Linked DNA regions of Homo sapiens: region 2 is linked to region 1. Evidence: promoter capture Hi-C in human tissues and cell types (Jung and others, 2019). All regions are on one chromosome and are shown on one strand. Each heading gives the region's core, a stretch centred on a gene start or on the middle of the fragment in contact. The rest is flanking DNA. Distances are from core to core; before and after follow the strand shown. Region 1 holds the start of HAO1 (hydroxyacid oxidase 1). Region 2 overlaps TMX4 (thioredoxin related transmembrane protein 4).

Region 1 (3,422 bases), core at 762-3,261:
ATTCATTTTCATTATCTGTGTCCTATCCCTAAGTTACTCGGTACACACATAGGATGGGAATACTCACTTGAATACCATGTAATTCACATAAGGCATGAGGCACTTTTCCAGTTCATAACTTAGAAGTCACCAAGCCTTCTATGTCTCCCAAAGTTTCTACATTTTAAAGGGTTGCATAGGTGATCCATCTGCTTTGGGGCGCCCCTTTGCATCCTCTCTGAGACCTCCACTTGGCCAACTATTTTGGGCCCATTTTGCATCAATTCAACCCAACAGCATTATGGAGGCTGATATGCATCCAGGGGAATGTAAGTTCCTAGGGACAGGAACTTTGTCTGGCTCACTGCTTTGTCCTCAGCATGTAGTACACAGTGTAGCTCATGGAGACTCCTAATTAGCTCTAGTTAATTAGCTAGCATGCGACAAAGGGAATTAAGAAGTAAGGAAAGCTGTATACAAATGAAATAAATAATCACTTGAGCATTGGAGGTCTAGCAATGCTGAGACACTAACTCTATAAATCTGTCAAGGGTCTGAAATTTCCTTGGTTGTAATAACCTATTTGGGTTAAAGTGTTTTCAAGAGACCACTCATAGGCAAATTTTGGTGGACAAAGTTAATATCGGCCCAAGAAGGGGCATCTTCCAAGAGCAGAAACTTTTAAATGAGTCCAAAATAGTAAATAATGATGCAGAATTTTAAGCCCCTCTACTCTCAGTCAACTTCCCTTCCCATGACTTCCCTGGCATTTGTTGAGCTCATTTGGGTTCCAGGCAAAACCTGAGACAAAGTCAAGGCTTGAAAGGGTTGGGGAGAGGCCGTATCCTTCACCCCATTGCCATTTTCAGTCTTCTACATGGATTTGTGGGTGAATCAGTGCTGCCTACCAGAGACCACCTTGGCCAGGATAATTTTATTTCTCCTAATTTAAATATGGAAAACTGATTTTGAGTGATTTTGTTGTAGACTAAAGAAGAAATCAGGGAGGAAGGCTAATTCTCTCCCCCTGCATATTTTCTGCCTTTTTGTCTTTATCACCATCAATGAGTACCCACAATACCGATTGCCTTTACTAACAGCCATAATGTTAGATGGATGAGACTGAGTGTAGTGTAGTGAAGGCACTCCTCTCTTGCTCCAGCAAATAAACCATTTTTGTAACTGCTATAAAAAAAAACCCTTTGAAATGATTTTATTTCTTGTTTTTATTACAAACAGAAAACATAAACCATGTCACCCACCATCTTGTGCTTTGAAATATGAAAGTCAAAGGAAAACTAATTTGGGAAGAGAGATGAAGTGCTTTGAAGGAGAGATGAAACAGCAAAGTTGAAAGATTAATGCTGCATAGACAAATTGAAATCTAAAGTGAAAGTTTAGACAACAGTAATCAAAATGAATGATAACACGAAAAGCCAGCAGGAAGAAAACATTTGAGCCAACAATCCAGTCTGGTTCATCCGGATAAGATGGTTATCTGGCATTTAATGCTGTTTCCTACACCATGAACATAAGCATTTACTGTCATACTAAGAAAAAGAAAAGTCATCCGAATTTATCGCTATTTTTACATGTAGTTAAATTAATTGTTGTCATATTTCCAAGTGAAGTAACATAGGTTTGGCTTTTGCAGTCAGTTCCTCAAGATTCACAGGCTTGGAATATTTTTTAACAATTTAAAGGCCCAAGATTTCTTACAGCCCCAAGAACTTTTCCCTCTCTACTAAGCACAAATCTGAACAAATAATTACACACCACCAACGTAAAACTAGGAGATCTTATTTTGGTACGGTCTTTGTGTAATTTTAAAACATGATTTTAAAAAATAAATTTTCTTACCTGGAAAATGCTGCAATATTATCAGCCAAAGTTTCTTCATCATTTGCCCCAGACCTGTAATAGTCATATATAGACTTTGGAAGTACTGATTTAGCATGTTGTTCATAATCATTGATACAAATTAGCCGGGGGAGCATTTTCACAGGTTATTGCTATCCCAGATGGAGTTCGTTGTTTTTTTTTTTTTAATGTATTGCTTTCTACATCCTCACTGTTCTGTTATTTGTCAATTATTAATAGACTTTTGCCAAAGTTCAGATTTAGTTCTCTGTTGCTTACATCAAGTGAGCAAACATTATATGCTTAGCCTTTGAAATTTCATTTGTAGGCTATCTGCCAAAGAACACCGAAGTCACTATCTGCCAAAGAACACCAAAGTTGAGGTTGGGAAGGCAGCAGAAGGTGATTAGGTGTCTATCACATTAAAAAGGGGAAAGGAATAAGTAAAAAATTAAAGACTTAGAGGAATACCTGTATGAAACCACTCTTGGTTCAGTTTTGCCTAAGGCTGCTTATTGCACATGGTCTGTGCCTGTGCTCTTTGCTTGATACCCAGAATAGGCTGCCCACTCATTTTCTTTCCACATTTGGATCATGCACAAATCATGTAAACAAGAGCTTATGAACTGAACGGGGCATCCATGAAATATGGGGCATCCGTGAAATTCAGGGCTTCTGCACAATATAAAATTTAGCTGATTACAAACATAGACATTTGGCTTTAACATGGAACATTAAGGCCAAATTGACAGCTAATTGTTTTATTCATTCTGTATATTTGAGGTTTACAACATGATATTATGAGATACATATACACAGAAAAATGGTTACAGTAGGGAGGCCAATATAATATATGTATCATCTCACCCGTAATTACTTTTTTGTGTGTATGACAAGAACAGCTAAAATCAACTTATTTAACAAAAATTCCTAATATGATACAATTTTATTAACTTTAGTCCTCATTTTGCACGTTTGCTCTCTAGACCAGGGGTCCCAAACTCCCCAGCATGGACTGGTACTGGTCCGTGGCCTGTTAGGAACCAAGCTGCACAGCAGGAGGTGAGCAGCCGGTGAGCAAGCTTTACAGACTGAGCTCCGCCTCCTATTGTGAACTGCACATGCGAGGGATCTAGGTTGCGCCACTCCTTATGAGAATCTAATGCCTGATGATCTGAGGTGGAACAGTTTCATTCCAAAACCATCCACCTACCCCCACTGCCCATGGAAAAATTGTATTCCACAAAACTTGTCCCTGGTGCCGAAAAGGTTAGGGACCCTGTTGTAGATTTATGTATCCTACGTGTCTACTATTTTGTATCCTTTGACCTATATCACCCCTTTTCCTCTTCCCTGCTTCCCACTAGTGGTATTCACTGTTTCATTCTCTAGCTCTGTGCATTTGAAGTCTTTTTTAAAACAAAATCCCACCTATAAGTGAAATAATGCAATAATTTCCCTTTTGTGCCTGGCTTATTTCACTTAGCATAATGTTCTCTGGGTTCTACTGCAAATGACAGGATTCCCTTCTCTTATAAGGCTGAATAATATTTCATTGTGTGTATATCTATACATTTCCCTTA
Region 2 (3,353 bases), core at 551-3,050, 72 kb after region 1:
AAATTTTTCATAATAAAGTCTTGAATAAATAGAGAAATATACCAACTTGTGGGTAAGCAGGCTGAGCATTTTTAAAATGCCAATTCCCTCCAATTTATTTTTCATTTGTTCCATTCCTGAATTGTTTTTACAAAATGTGGCACCTATTATTTCTGTATTAAGGGAGGAAAGGGGCCAGGGGAGAGAAAGAGAAGTAGAAAAGAATGCCTGCCAATAGAATATAACACTCACACACACAAAATGCCTTAGGAAGGGAAACAAAGTAAGGGGAAAAGTACAAAACTGATCAAATCCTGTAACAAGATTTAGGCTCAAAGTTGCCTGTCAGGTCATCATTTACAAATCCCTTCAAAATTCTGAACTGTGCAAAAGCATGCTGGTAAGTATCATTAAAAAAAAAAATCAATGCAATGACACATATAAACCAACTTTGCTGAATAACAAAACAAAAAACAAAAACTGAAATTGGGCAAGATTTTGATCTTTCGCATTATAAAAGATGAGTCAGGGGTTAAAAAGCGAAGACTAGGGGAAGGAATGCATTTATTTCACAAAAAGTACTGAAAATTAGGCAGAACCCAGAAGAGAATGGACTACCCAAAGCCAAAGCATTCATTACTTTCTCCAGACAGGCCCCAGAAGCAGCAAGACTTAGCAAGCACAGTTGTTCACCATCTCTAGAAAAGACTACTATATAGCTAATTCCAAGATCATGCTAAAACATCATTAATCTTTCCATTACAGCTCACTGTCCAAATCCTGAGATCCAGAAGACAGGAACAACAAAATAATCTGCTGACATCTTTGAATGTAGATTTTTTTAAACCTTCGTGTCTCTGTATTTCCAAGGCAAAGTACATTCTTGATATACAGTAGGTGTTCAATAAATGTTTGCTGAATAAACAAGTGTATCAACTTTAATGAAAATCATATTCTTCATCTGAGAAAATAAGTTATTTTCTATGTAGTTTCTAAATATCCAAGTTAACAGATGAGACTCAGGCAGTTGGCAAACTTTAGGAAAAAAAGGAATTCTGAATTATCAAGTACATTTCAACAAGCGTTCCATGATGTTGGATAAGAGTTCTGCTATAACAATCAGAAAGATCAACCAGGAATTAATCATGATATTCTGGGCAGGTTAATAATCTCTCCATGCCTCAGTTTCCTCAACTGTAAAATGGGATAATAACAGTAGCTACCTTAGGTTACTGAGAGATCAGATGAAATACGAAGCAGGCACATATTTATTTAATAGGAGCAACCATTAATACAAATTTCATTTGTAATACTGCTTGGGGTTCAAGACACTTTTACGATGCATTAGCTCATCTGACCTTACAGCCTCACTGCCAAACAGACAAAGCAGGTATAGAGATGTGCTTAAGACCACTCAGAGCAAGAACACAGATGGAGGTATTTCTTTGATAAAAATCGTCAAGGAATATAAAACTTCAACATTCAGAGGGAGAAAGAAGTTATAAGAAAGTAACAAGAATAAGGAAGTTATCTTGAAGTATAATATAATATAATGAACTTCAGATCCTCTTTATTTCCCTAGGACGCTCTTTGCATATAAATCACAGGCACATTTGCTGCATCAGTAATTATGTTTCATAATTTAAAAAATACAGGACTTAATCTCTAGATAGGCTATTACTAAGTTGGTTTTTGGTGAAACTGACCTTCAGATATACAATTATAATGCATCCTCGGATATGCCACTGAGGTAATTTTAGATATGCCATTTCTACATAGCTGCTATACACTGGTCTGTGGCATTGTTAATGCCATTATTTCACAGATTTAATCACAGCTGATTTGTGTTGGAATGCACCCAGATGTTCTTTCAGTGGTAGAGATAAGCCAGCTCTGAGTCTTTAGCATGGGAACTGGTCCATTGTTGCTGCAGTTTTTAAAGTTTTTAATATTCTTTTGTATCTAAAGAACAGTAATTTGTATAAGAATTTAGAAACTAAGTAAAATATCTCCAGGGACAAAATGAATGCAAGGATCAGTCATGTGACCTTCATGCTCCTCTCTCACTCTGTGTACACATAGATACATATATATATAATTTATGTATATATGCATAAATTAAACACATCAGAAATAATTGAACATGATCTTCATTAAATTTATTTCAAACTAGTTCACACTGGCAATCTTCTCCTAAGAACTATAAAAGATATGACCTGCCATAACTTTGTCTCTTACACATAATCCTTAAGAGCCTCCAAGAGCAATTAGCTCCATTATAGTCATTTAAACTGTAAATTGTTATCTTTTCTACTGAACTTTTGTTGACTTGTTTGCAGGTCACAGTGGTATGTAAAATTAGTAAACTTCATAAACATATTTGAAATATATTCCAGATAGCCAAAAAGCTCTGGTAAATTACACCAACTTACATGTCAGTGCAATGTTTTTAACCATTTCTGGGAAACAAAATTCAACAGCATGTTTTTGTTGTCCACGTTTTTTGTTCAACAGAATGTTTTTGTTGTCCATGTTGTCCGTGTTTTGTTGATGGAACGAGGTTGAAGGACCTTGAATCTTTTATTCCATGAACTTACTGAATTTGGTTTAAGATTTCATTAGGTGTGCTAAATATTTCAGAGAAGGACTTACTTATATTTATTTCCTAGAAAGGAAATTTTATTAACGATAAATTTTTATTTACCAATAATGAACAACTCTTCTTCTGTCTTGACTCTAATTTCACCAGTGTTTCTCAGTACACTCTCTTTTCTCCTGACTTTTTCTTATCTTTGCAGAAATGAGACAGTCAATAACAGATCCAGTCAATTTTCACTTAGTAGAACTTTGATCAAAATGCTCAGAATACTCAGCAACAATGAAGAGGAAAGAGGTATACTAGGTTCATCTTTCTATGACTTAATAAAGGAAACTAAATCAAAGTGTCAACAAAAGATGCCTTAACTACATCAAGTGTTATTCTTCCTTTTGGCAAATGTGGAATGACCCATGAATTGAAAGCCTTATGCTCAAATTTATTTCTTTGGACAATAATTTCTAGAACGTGTTATCACAAAAGGTAGAGGAAACATAAAAACTGGCAGCTCTATGAAAATCATGACACCTGCTAGAGAAAGTGGAATTCATGACTTTCACTAGAATTAACACTCCACGAAAGCAGTGACTGCTGCATGACTTGCACCACAGAACAGAACCTGGAAGGTCCTAGGCCACCACAATAAATATTCCATCAGTGAACAAATGGGAGATGATAGTAATTATCCTTAAGACTTCAGAAAATATATAAAGATGTCTCCTTCAGTGATATGCTTGAAGAAGTGCCTGATAAAAGAGCAATTAATCTATTATTCACT

What was found. The method cuts DNA at HindIII sites, captures the fragments that hold promoters and counts their contacts. A contact is called where the count stands out against the background at its distance.
Region 2: a fragment that was not itself captured here is called in contact with the fragment with the promoter of HAO1 in region 1 in 4 of the 25 tissues and cell types used here (hippocampus, liver, mesendoderm cells and 1 more).

Annotation. Positions count from the first base shown.
Region 1 is chr20:7,938,447-7,941,868 of GRCh38, forward strand. It overlaps HAO1 (hydroxyacid oxidase 1), which reads right to left and starts at 2,012. Exons shown (of 8, transcript NM_017545.3): 1 at 1,840-2,012. The coding sequence starts at 1,976. The HindIII fragment of the contact is 11,188 bases long and covers 1-3,422 here.
Region 2 is chr20:8,011,085-8,014,437 of GRCh38, forward strand. The region is part of intron 1 of TMX4 (thioredoxin related transmembrane protein 4); the gene reads right to left. Among named protein-coding and RNA genes, the nearest start is that of TMX4, 7.0 kb to the right of the region's middle. The HindIII fragment of the contact is 6,626 bases long and covers 1-3,353 here.